Regions from separate parts of the Homo sapiens genome. Here region 1 is linked to region 2. The links are contacts of gene promoters, found by promoter capture Hi-C in human tissues and cell types (Jung and others, 2019). All regions are on one chromosome and are shown on one strand. The core of a region is centred on a gene start or on the middle of the fragment in contact, and the rest is flanking DNA. Distances in the headings are between cores, read along the strand shown. Region 1 overlaps DENND5B (DENN domain containing 5B). Region 2 holds the start of AMN1 (antagonist of mitotic exit network 1 homolog).

Region 1 (4,638 bases), core at 307-2,806, 330 kb after region 2:
TGCCACTGTATTCCAGCTTGAGTGACAGAGTGACACTCTGTCTTTTTTGGGGGGGTTTTTGGTGCCAATTTTAAATAGTTTTATTTAAAACATTGCATTTTCCACTTACAATACAGTGTTTATAAAGTGCAATGTTATTTCCTTCCCCTGTGCATATGTTCCACATTCAAGTATTGAGAAAAATATGGAATGCTTCACCAATTTGCTTGCCATCCTCGTGCAGGGGCCATGCTAATAATCTTCTCTGTATTGTTCCAGTTTTTTAGTATATGTGCTGCCGAAACAAGCATGACTCTGTCTTTAAAAAAAAAAAAAAAAACAACAACAACAACAACAAATGCTGGCCAGGCATTATGCTGAGGTGGGTGGATCACCTGAGGTCAGGAGTTCAAGACCAGCCTGACCAACATGGCGAAACCCCGTCTCTACTAAAAATACAAAAATTAGCTGGGCATGGTAGTGTGCACCTGTAATCCTAGCTACTTGGGAGGCTGAGACAGGAGAATTGCTTGAACCTGAGAGGTGGAGGTTGCAGTAAGCCAATATCGTGCCACTGCACTACATGCACTACAGCCTGGGCAACAGAGTGAGACTCCGTCTCAAAAAAAAAAAAAAAAAAAAAACAAGGAATGCCAACAGCCACCAGAAGCTAAAAGAGGCAAGGAAGGGATTTTCCCCTAGAATTTCAAGGGAATACAGCCCTGCTGACACCTTGCTTTTTTTTTTTTTTTTTTTTTGGCCCAGTGATAACTAAATTTTGACTTCTGGCCTGCAACAAAATGTATTTCTGTCACTCAAGCCACCAAGTTTTGTGAGTCTATTACAGCAGCCACAGAAGGCAGCCACAGAACATGAATATAGAGGCGGTATTTAGGGAAAAATCACAGAAGTTTATCAGTGAAGGGGCTTTTTATCTATAGATTATAACCACAAGTAGAATAACAAAGGTACCTAATAGGTCCTTAGTTTATTAACAAAGCAGTTTCCCTAGATTCTTCTATTAGTCTCTATCCATTTGCTAGCACATGATTGTGTATTAACTATGAGTGCAGTTTTTTTGTTTTTTTGTTTTGTTTTGTTTTGTTTTGACTGAGTTTTCGCTCTTGTTGGCCATGCTGGAGTGCAGTGGTGCGGTCTCATCTCACTGCAACCTCCGCTTCCCAGGTTCAAGCGATTCTCCTGCCTCAGCCTCCCAAATAGCTGGGATTACGGGCATGCACTGCCACGTGAGGCTAATTTTGTATTTTGGGTAGAGACGGGGTTTCACCATGTTGGCCAGGCTGGTGTTGAACTCCTGACCTCAGGTGATCCTCCCACCTTGACCTCCCAGAGTGCTGGGATTGCAGGCGTGAGCCACTGTGCCCAACCAATTTAAAGCACTTATAGCAACAAATATTGGTGAGGATGTGGAGTAACAGAAAGCTCATGCATTGCTAGTAGGAATACAAAATAACATCTTGGCATTTATAAAGATACATGCACACTTACCGTACGCTTGGCCCAGCAATCTTACTCCTAGATATGTACACAAAAGAAATGAATACATATATCTACACAGACTTGTACCCAGATATTTTGAGAGATTTATTCATAATAGCCAAAAATGGAAACAACCCCAATATACATCAACTGGTGAAAGGATAAACAGATAGTGATATATATCTGTTTATATATCAGATCTCTATAAAAGCAATATAATAATAGAAAGTAGATCATTGGTTGCCAGGAGTTAGGAGCTAAGGAAGGTAACTGAAAAGAGCACAGGATAGGCCGGGCACGGTGGCTCACGCCTGTAATACAGCACTTTGGGAGGCCAAGACGGGCGGATCACAAGGTCAGCAGATCGAGACCATCCTGGCTAACATGGTGAAACCCCGTCTCTACTAAAAATACAAAAAATTAGCCGGGCATGGTGGCAGGTGTCAATAGTCCCAGCTACTCGGGAGGCTGAGGCAGGAGAATGGCGTGAACCCGGGAGGCGGAACTTGCAGTGACCTGAGATCGCTCCACTGCACTCCAGCCTGGGTGACAGAGCGAGACTCCGTCTCAAAAAAAAAAAAAAAAGAGCACAGGGTAACTTTTGGGGATGATGGAAATGTTCTGTATCATGATTGTGGTGGTGGTTACATGACTATCCATTTGTCAAAGCTCATCAAAATTGGTGACTTTTATTACATGGTGAATTTTAATTATGCTGATTTAAAATTTAAAAGTAGGTTTCAGCTCAATCCATCCTAATTATTATAACATCTGAGTCAGTCCAATTTCATGGGGGTATTATCTGAGAGGCTTTTATCCCCCATTTTTTTTTAATCGTACTTTCTTTTCTCATGCTATAAGCAGAAAAGTCTAAATGACCCAAGACTCAGAAATGGATAACGGTATTTTCTCACAGTATGTTATATGTAAAATGGTATTCAGAGAACTGAAAATTTTTAAAATCAGTTTTATAATAATACTGATCAAAGCTCTTTTGGAATGGGTGACAGTTTTCAAAATAGACTTCATGTCTAAAAGAAAAAATAGAGAAAGGTAAAGGTAAAAAAAACAAACAAAAACTACTGGGTAAAGAAACCACTAGGAACAAGAGGCCATGGTATCAGTACTTCAATTATAAGAGGTTTTCATTTTAACAATTTTTATGCATTAGTGTAGAAAAAACCTACTTGAATTTTACTGAAAGAAACGTTAGCCGGGCATGGTGGCTTACGCCTGTAATCCCAGCACTTTGGGAGGCTGAGGTGGGCGGATCACCTGAGGTCAGGAGTTCGAGACCAGCGTGACCAATATGGTAAAACCCTATTTCTACTAAAAATACAAAAAAATTAGCCATGCATGGTGGCCGGCACCTGTAGTCCCAGCTACACGGGAGGCTGAGGCAGGAGAATTGCTTGAACCTGGGAGGCGGAGGGTGCAGTGAGCCGACATTGCACCACTGCACTCCAGCCTAGGAGACAGAGCGAGACTCCATCTCAAAAAAGAAAAAAGAAATGTTCATGCAAGAAATCCTTGAGCAGTATGAATTCAGAGATTCTTAAACATGAGGATGTATGGGTTTTCCTTTATAGTGTGTTAAGTAAATTAGAACTACAAGAAAATCTGAACTATATACCTTTTCTGTTGTTACCTACTTCTGAAATGTTTACCACCTTTTTAAAAAAACAAACCATTCCTTGGGTTTGGTGGACAAAAGTGATTTAGGTCGCATTCAAGCAGCCCACCAACCTGTCCCTCAGGAAAGTGGCCTAGAAGAGCAAGTACTGGCTGGCAGAAGGAAGCAGTGCTGAGACAGATTGACTAGCCAGGAAGGGAGGGAGTTCTGGGCTTCAGGCCCAGATGCCACAGGGTACCTGGCATCTTCCCCTTATTTTAAACACAACAGCAAATCTTCAAACTCCAGGTTAACTATCCAGAGCGCCTGAAGCCTTAATCTATGCCCACTGACAGGCTTGTAGGTAGGTAGCATAAGGGAACATTCCACTAACAGGCTCGTAGGTAGATAGCATAAGGGAACATTTCACTAACAGGCTCGTAGGTGGGTAGCATAAGGGAACATTTGAGGAGTGATGTTGGGACTTCTCAACCTTGCTTCTCATATTTGGGGGCTTGCTAGCATTTTGTGACAGGCGCCATGCTAGTTATTTACTCCTATAACTTACCAGTTTTCCCAGTGAGGCGTGTATTTTTCCTATTTTCAGTTGAGGAAACTGAAAGCTCAGAGGAAGTTAGACACTAGGCTAGGGTTATAGATTGCAGATGGTAATGCTGGGATTTGAATCTAGGGATCGCTTGGATTATTTTCCATTTTGCCAGGATGCTTCCCACTTGGCCAAACAGGCCAGAGGCAAGTTCTATGGAGCCCCTGGCAAAGCCAGCCTGCTCTGATGACGTATTTCCTGCCTAGGTGGACACAGTTGATGTCCCATAGTACTTTGGTTTATTTCTCTCCCATGAGAATGCAGCCACTGTTTATTATTTTACAGAACCCAATGCTGGGCAGATACAAGAAGGAATTGGAGAAGCTGTGAACAATATTGTGAAACATTTTCATAAACCTGAAAAAGAGGTATTTATGGGCTATAAAACTTAGTATAGTGGGACTTTTAAAGATGCTTTTATATGTGATACACGAGGCAATATGGGGTGCTTGAATTTTCATTTGTAAGCTTTCTGGTAGCTGTAAAAACATGCTTCATATAGCTACCTTCAGCACTTGCTTCTCTAGTGTTTTTTTTAGACATAGATGCAGGAGATTTTTCTTTGGCACTGTGTGTTATGCCCCACAGAGAGGAAGCCTCACCGTGTTGCTGTGTGGAGAAAATGGCCTGGTTGCAGCCCTTGAGCAAGTTTTCCACCATGGGTTCAAATCTGCCCGCATCTTTCACAAGAATGTCTTCATCTGGGACTTCATAGGTAAATAAAGTAGATGTGTATTACATTAAGGTCACTGAAGCCTTTCTTAGGAACTCAAAGACCCAGGAATCTGAGTGAATAAGGGTTAGTGATAAGGATATATATATTTTTTTTCTTTTTTTTTTTTTGAGACGGAATCTTACTCTGTTGCCCAAGCTGGAGTGCAGTGGTGCGGTCTTGGCTCACTGTAACCTCCGCCTCCCAGGTTCAAATGATTCTCCTGCC
Region 2 (4,853 bases), core at 809-3,308:
TCTTGTTTGGCTCTGGGAAGCTAAAAGACAACAAAGAAAGAATTCTCCAAAGATACTGAGTTTCTTTGGGAGTGAACAAAAAGAATTATAATCCAAGATGTACAGCTATGGCAAGCCACGGGTCTGGAGAAGGGAAGAATAGGGGGAAGATTTTACTGGTAAAGGAGGGAAGTTCACATAAACTCTTGGAAACTAAGTTGATTGGTTCCCAAGGCTCAAATCAAGAATTGGAGTCCGTTCATTGGTGGAGGTCCTGCTGCTGGGCCAAACGTCCTTTCGACAGTATCTTATCTGAACTGCTGCAGTTTTAAAGAATATTTAGCAATAAATCTTGTCATAGAAATGTGCGCATATTTGCAAAACAAGCAAGTTGTGCAAAACATTAAATGCATGAAAGATGTGAAGAAATTGTGGGTTTTTTGGTTTATTTTTTAAAGTCCTTGAGGCAGTTCGTTCTTTCTTTTTTTTTTTTTTTGAGACGGAGTCTTGCTCTGTCGCCCAGGCTGGAGTGCAGTGGCACGATCTCGGCTCACTATAACCTCCTCCGAGTTCAAGCGATTCTCCTGCCTCAGCCTCCTCAGTAGCTGGGATTACAGGCGCCCGCCACCACACCCAGTTTTTTTTTTTTTTTTTTGTATTTTTAGTAGAGACGGGAATTTCACCACGTTGGCCAGGCTGGTCTCAAACTCCTGACCTCGTGATCCGCCCGCCTCGGCCTCCCAAAGTACTAGGATTACAGGTGTGAGCCACCGCGTCTGGCCTTGAGACAGTTCTTATCTCAGACATACAAGCATGAGTTTCCTTCCTTTCTGGTCTCTAGGCTCCAATTTGTCTGGGTCTGACAATAGTTACTTCTCCTGGAATCTGCAACTTTCAGAGCACTTTATGGAAAAAGTCGGCCAACCCCTGCCCTACACTCACTCTTGATCACTCTCCAGTGTAGCCATCCCAAACTATTTGCAGACCACCCTTTTCTCTCTGATCTGTATCCCACCCCCATGGGTGCTTCCATAGAACTAACCCCATCTAAGCATTTAACAGTTATTCTAATTGCCCTTTTACTTGTCTGACCCAAGTGTTCGCCACTCAATCCTCAGCACCCAGCACGATCCCTAGCCCTCGTTCAGCGCTTAATAAATCCATGTTGATTCAATGTGTAGCATCCTGAACAGGCAACAGCAGTGGGTTCCAACTTTCAAGGAGCTTAAAAAAGGAACTCAGCATACAAACAACAGACTAATCTACAAGGAAGAATGAGGGGGGTGGAGGGAGCACTAAAAAGCAGCAAGTACTCTGCAGCAGAACCAAAGATAAAATTCCACCTAAAGGTGCCCTTTCTTCAGGATCCTTCCTAATTTGAATACAGGTTCCCTTCTCCTCCATGACGAAATTCTTAGTGAGGTTACTTGTTGGTACGCAGTGTCCTCATCTGTAAAATAAGGCTAAATAATTACGATTTCACCGGATTATAATGAATATGGTTAAGTATTGAACTAAGGCCTAGAAAGCACGTAGCTCAGTGCACGCTTCCTAGAAAGTGCTCAGTAAACTCGGATCCTCTAACACGCTCCGTTTGATGTTAATGGAGTCCGTATCCGAGCGGGTCTCCAGTGTGCATCGCCAAGGGTATGGCCCAGCATCCAACGCATCCTTTTAGTAAGAGTAGCGACTTCTCAGCGCTCCCTTCGCCCCAGGAGAGTTCTCGGCTCGCGGCGTCGCGGCGGGGCTGCGCGCTGGGCTGAACTCCCAAGAAACCTCCTGCAGCTGAACCGGAGCAGACGCCCGCCAGGTGAAAGAACTACAACTCCCGTCACGTTGCATCCGAGTTTAGGGCCTCTTTATAGTTTATCACACCCAGCCTCTTCCGCGCAGCCCTCAGTGGCTCCGCCCCAAAGGGGGCTCTCTTCTTTCCTTGTGGAGTCCGAAGCGTGGCCACGCCCCGGTCACCGGAAAAATCCGTGTGACGTCACAAAAACCTACGCGTCGCGCGGTGGGCGGGAGTTGGCGGACGGTCCCTGGCTGGGTTCTGGAGGCCCTGGGACCGCGGAAGAGGCTTCAGACGCTGCAGCGATGCCTCGCCCACGGCGGGTCAGTCAGCTCCTGGATCTGTGAGTCTACCCTGTCCCGCCTCCCTTCGCGCCGCCCCAGCACCTCCTCCAAACGGCCAGGCCCTGCGCTGCTCTTCCTCCCCGCCCCTTTCCCACCCCCCCCGCCGACCTCTGAAGAGGCCCCGCGTGTGTTTCTGTCCCTGGGTTCCTGATCTGTCGTTTCCTGGCTGAGGACAGTTGTGCAAAGTGGGTCTCTTGGCGGGCTTGCCCCTCCAACACTCCGCTGCGCGATGAGCGTCCATTCCTCCGTCAGCCTTGACAGCTCGGCGCCCCGGCTGTTACTGGCAGTGGCCTCTCTCTTAGCAGCTAAAAGCCTTGGTAGAAAAAAACACAACGCTAGATGAGGTTCTCAAAAGCTTCTAGCAGAATTCCACCCCTGTAACTGGAATAAACATTGACAGACCCTGGGATAAAGGTAACAAAGTGGTTAAGACCACGGATCCCTGGCTGAGATTGCTGGGTTCAGCCCCCGGCTCTGCCATTCACCAGCCACGTGACCATGGACCGGTAACGTAACCTCTCCCTGTGCCTAGGTTCTTTATCTATAAAATTTTTGTGATAATAGCACCCATCACATGGAGTTGTCCTGAGGGATAAATTTAAAACATGTAAAACCCTTATAAGGATGCCCAGCAAATAATAAACACCACTAAGTGTTATTGTTATTATTATTTCCTACCAGAAATTGTACGGAAATGGAAGTTACAAGGGCAATTGCGTCTCTCCAGGAGCTTTCAGTCCGTTAATATTGCCATGTAAAAAATAGACATCTTAAGGATAAGGAGAACAATCTCCTTAATCTACTGAAGGCTTTCTGAAACAATGGCATCTGATATTTTACATTAAACTTGGGAGGCCGAGGTGGGAGAACTGCTTGAGCTCAGGAGTTCGAGACCAGCCTGGGCAACGTGGCGAAACCCCGCCTCTACTAAAGATACAAAAATTATCTGGGCACGGTGGTTCACGCCTGTAATCCCAGCACTTTGGGAGGCCGAGGCACTTGAGATCAGGAGAGTTGGAGACCAGCCTAGCCAGCACGGCAAAACCGCGGCATGTACTAAAAATACAAAAATTAGCCAGGAGTAGTAGTGGCGCCGGTAGTCCCAGCTACTCTGGAGGCTGAGGCAGGAGAATCGCCTCAACCCAGGAGGCAGAGGTTGCAGTGAGCTGAGATCGCGCCACTGCACGCCTAGGCTGCTAGGCGACAGAGCGAGACTGTCTCAAAAAAATAAAATAAATAACTATAATATATGTAGAATAATATCACAAGCGGGAGAGTAACAAACTTTTGAAATTTCTAATAAGGAAAAGAATAGGAGAAAGCTTTGTCAAGGGGGTTATTTTTGAACATTGGTAGTATCTGACGGTTGCAAATGGGAGGAAATGTATCGTAGAGAGTGAAATAAAAAGAGTAAAGGTTTGACAGGCAGGAAAGGTAGAAATATGAGAGAAGACCAGAAAGTAGCGCTCCAATGTGAATGGAAGATACAATATGAATAGCACAGTAGTGAGACATAAAGCCAGGTCATTGGGAATAGAATCTTAGGGACCAGGATGAAGTAAGAGCATTTCCTCTTTCAGTCATGGGGAGCTATCAAAGGTTTTAGAACTGTACTGTGAGCAGAGAGAGATTTGAATTAGGCAGAAGTTGGAAATAGGGAGACACTTAGAAGACTGTTACAAAATCTTAAGAGGTGAAGAGCCCAAACCAGGAGACACATGAAGATGTTCTTTGCAGAATTATTTCTGGTGGCATGGAGCTGGAATGGGAGAGTTACCATGGAATATTATGCAGCTGTTAGAAAAGCAAAGGGTAGGCCAGGCATGGTGGCTCACACCTGTAATCCCAACATTTTGGGACCCTGAGGAGGGTGGATTGCTTGAGGCCAGGAGTTGGAGACCAGTCTAGGCAACATGGCAAAACCATGTCTCTACCAAAAATAAAAAGTTAGCCAATCTCATAACCTGGTCTCAAAATAAATAAATAAATAGATAAATAAATGAAAGAAAAGCAAAGAGTAGATTCATTTGGATAGAATTTTAAAACACAGTGCTTAGTGAAAAAAAGAGGAAACAGACTAACAATGTTAAGAAAAATTCTTCAGAACTTGGGGCTAAGACAGGGATGACTACATGATCTTCATTGTCATGCTAGAGTGTGGTCCCTAGGTAAAGGTCCATATTTGCCCTTAGAACCTAATTTTGTACCCTTCTGGGACAAGGTACAGTCTGAGACTGGCAGTTGGTCAGCAAGCTATTTCTGGTTTGTAACAAAGTAAGAAGCTTGAGCCAGACTAGTAATTAAGTGTGTCACTAAGCACATTATTTAGTCCAGCTGATGAGGCTTTCTCCATGAAGGAAACAGGGCTTGGTTTATGTTCTTGCATAAACTCCTTATCTCCTCACTGACCAGCACTTTAACACTGCTTTAGAGAATCCTTTGGATCTGGGACATGAATAGTTTTGAATAGAGGGACCGAGGAAAGAGAAGAATTAGAAATTACTCTTTTAGTTGGGGGCCGTGGCTCACGCCTGTAACCCCAGCACTTTGGAAGGCTGAGGCAGGTGGATCACCTGAGGTGGGGAGTTCGAGACTAGTCTGACCAACATGGAGAAACCCTGTCTCTACTAAAAATACAAAATTAGCCGGCCGTGGTGGTGCATGCCTGTAATCCCAGCTCCTTGGGAGGCTGAGGTGGGAGAATCGCTTGAACCTGGGAGGCAGAGGTTGCGGTGAGCCGAGCT

What was found. The method cuts DNA at HindIII sites, captures the fragments that hold promoters and counts their contacts. A contact is called where the count stands out against the background at its distance.
Region 1: a fragment that was not itself captured here is called in contact with the fragment with the promoter of AMN1 in region 2 in 1 of the 25 tissues and cell types used here (dorsolateral prefrontal cortex).

Annotation. Positions count from the first base shown.
Region 1 is chr12:31,392,042-31,396,679 of GRCh38, reverse strand. It overlaps DENND5B (DENN domain containing 5B), which reads left to right. Exons shown (of 21, transcript NM_144973.4): 18 at 3,984-4,066; 19 at 4,287-4,413. It also overlaps the pseudogene RNU6-618P. Among named protein-coding and RNA genes, the nearest start is that of LINC02387, 25 kb to the right of the region's middle. The HindIII fragment of the contact is 7,553 bases long and covers 1-4,638 here.
Region 2 is chr12:31,726,226-31,731,078 of GRCh38, reverse strand. It overlaps AMN1 (antagonist of mitotic exit network 1 homolog), which reads left to right and starts at 2,058. Exons shown (of 7, transcript NM_001113402.2): 1 at 2,058-2,108. The coding sequence starts at 2,071. AMN1-AS1 (AMN1 antisense RNA 1) reads right to left here and starts at 1,814. Exons shown (of 1, transcript NR_198987.1): 1 at 1-1,814. It overlaps LOC105369722 (a long non-coding RNA gene), which reads right to left. Exons shown (of 3, transcript XR_931497.3): 3 at 2,189-2,422. RefSeq lists enhancers at 1,550-1,749, 1,145-1,777, 1,790-2,139 and a silencer at 2,190-2,269. The HindIII fragment of the contact is 7,129 bases long and covers 1-2,948 here.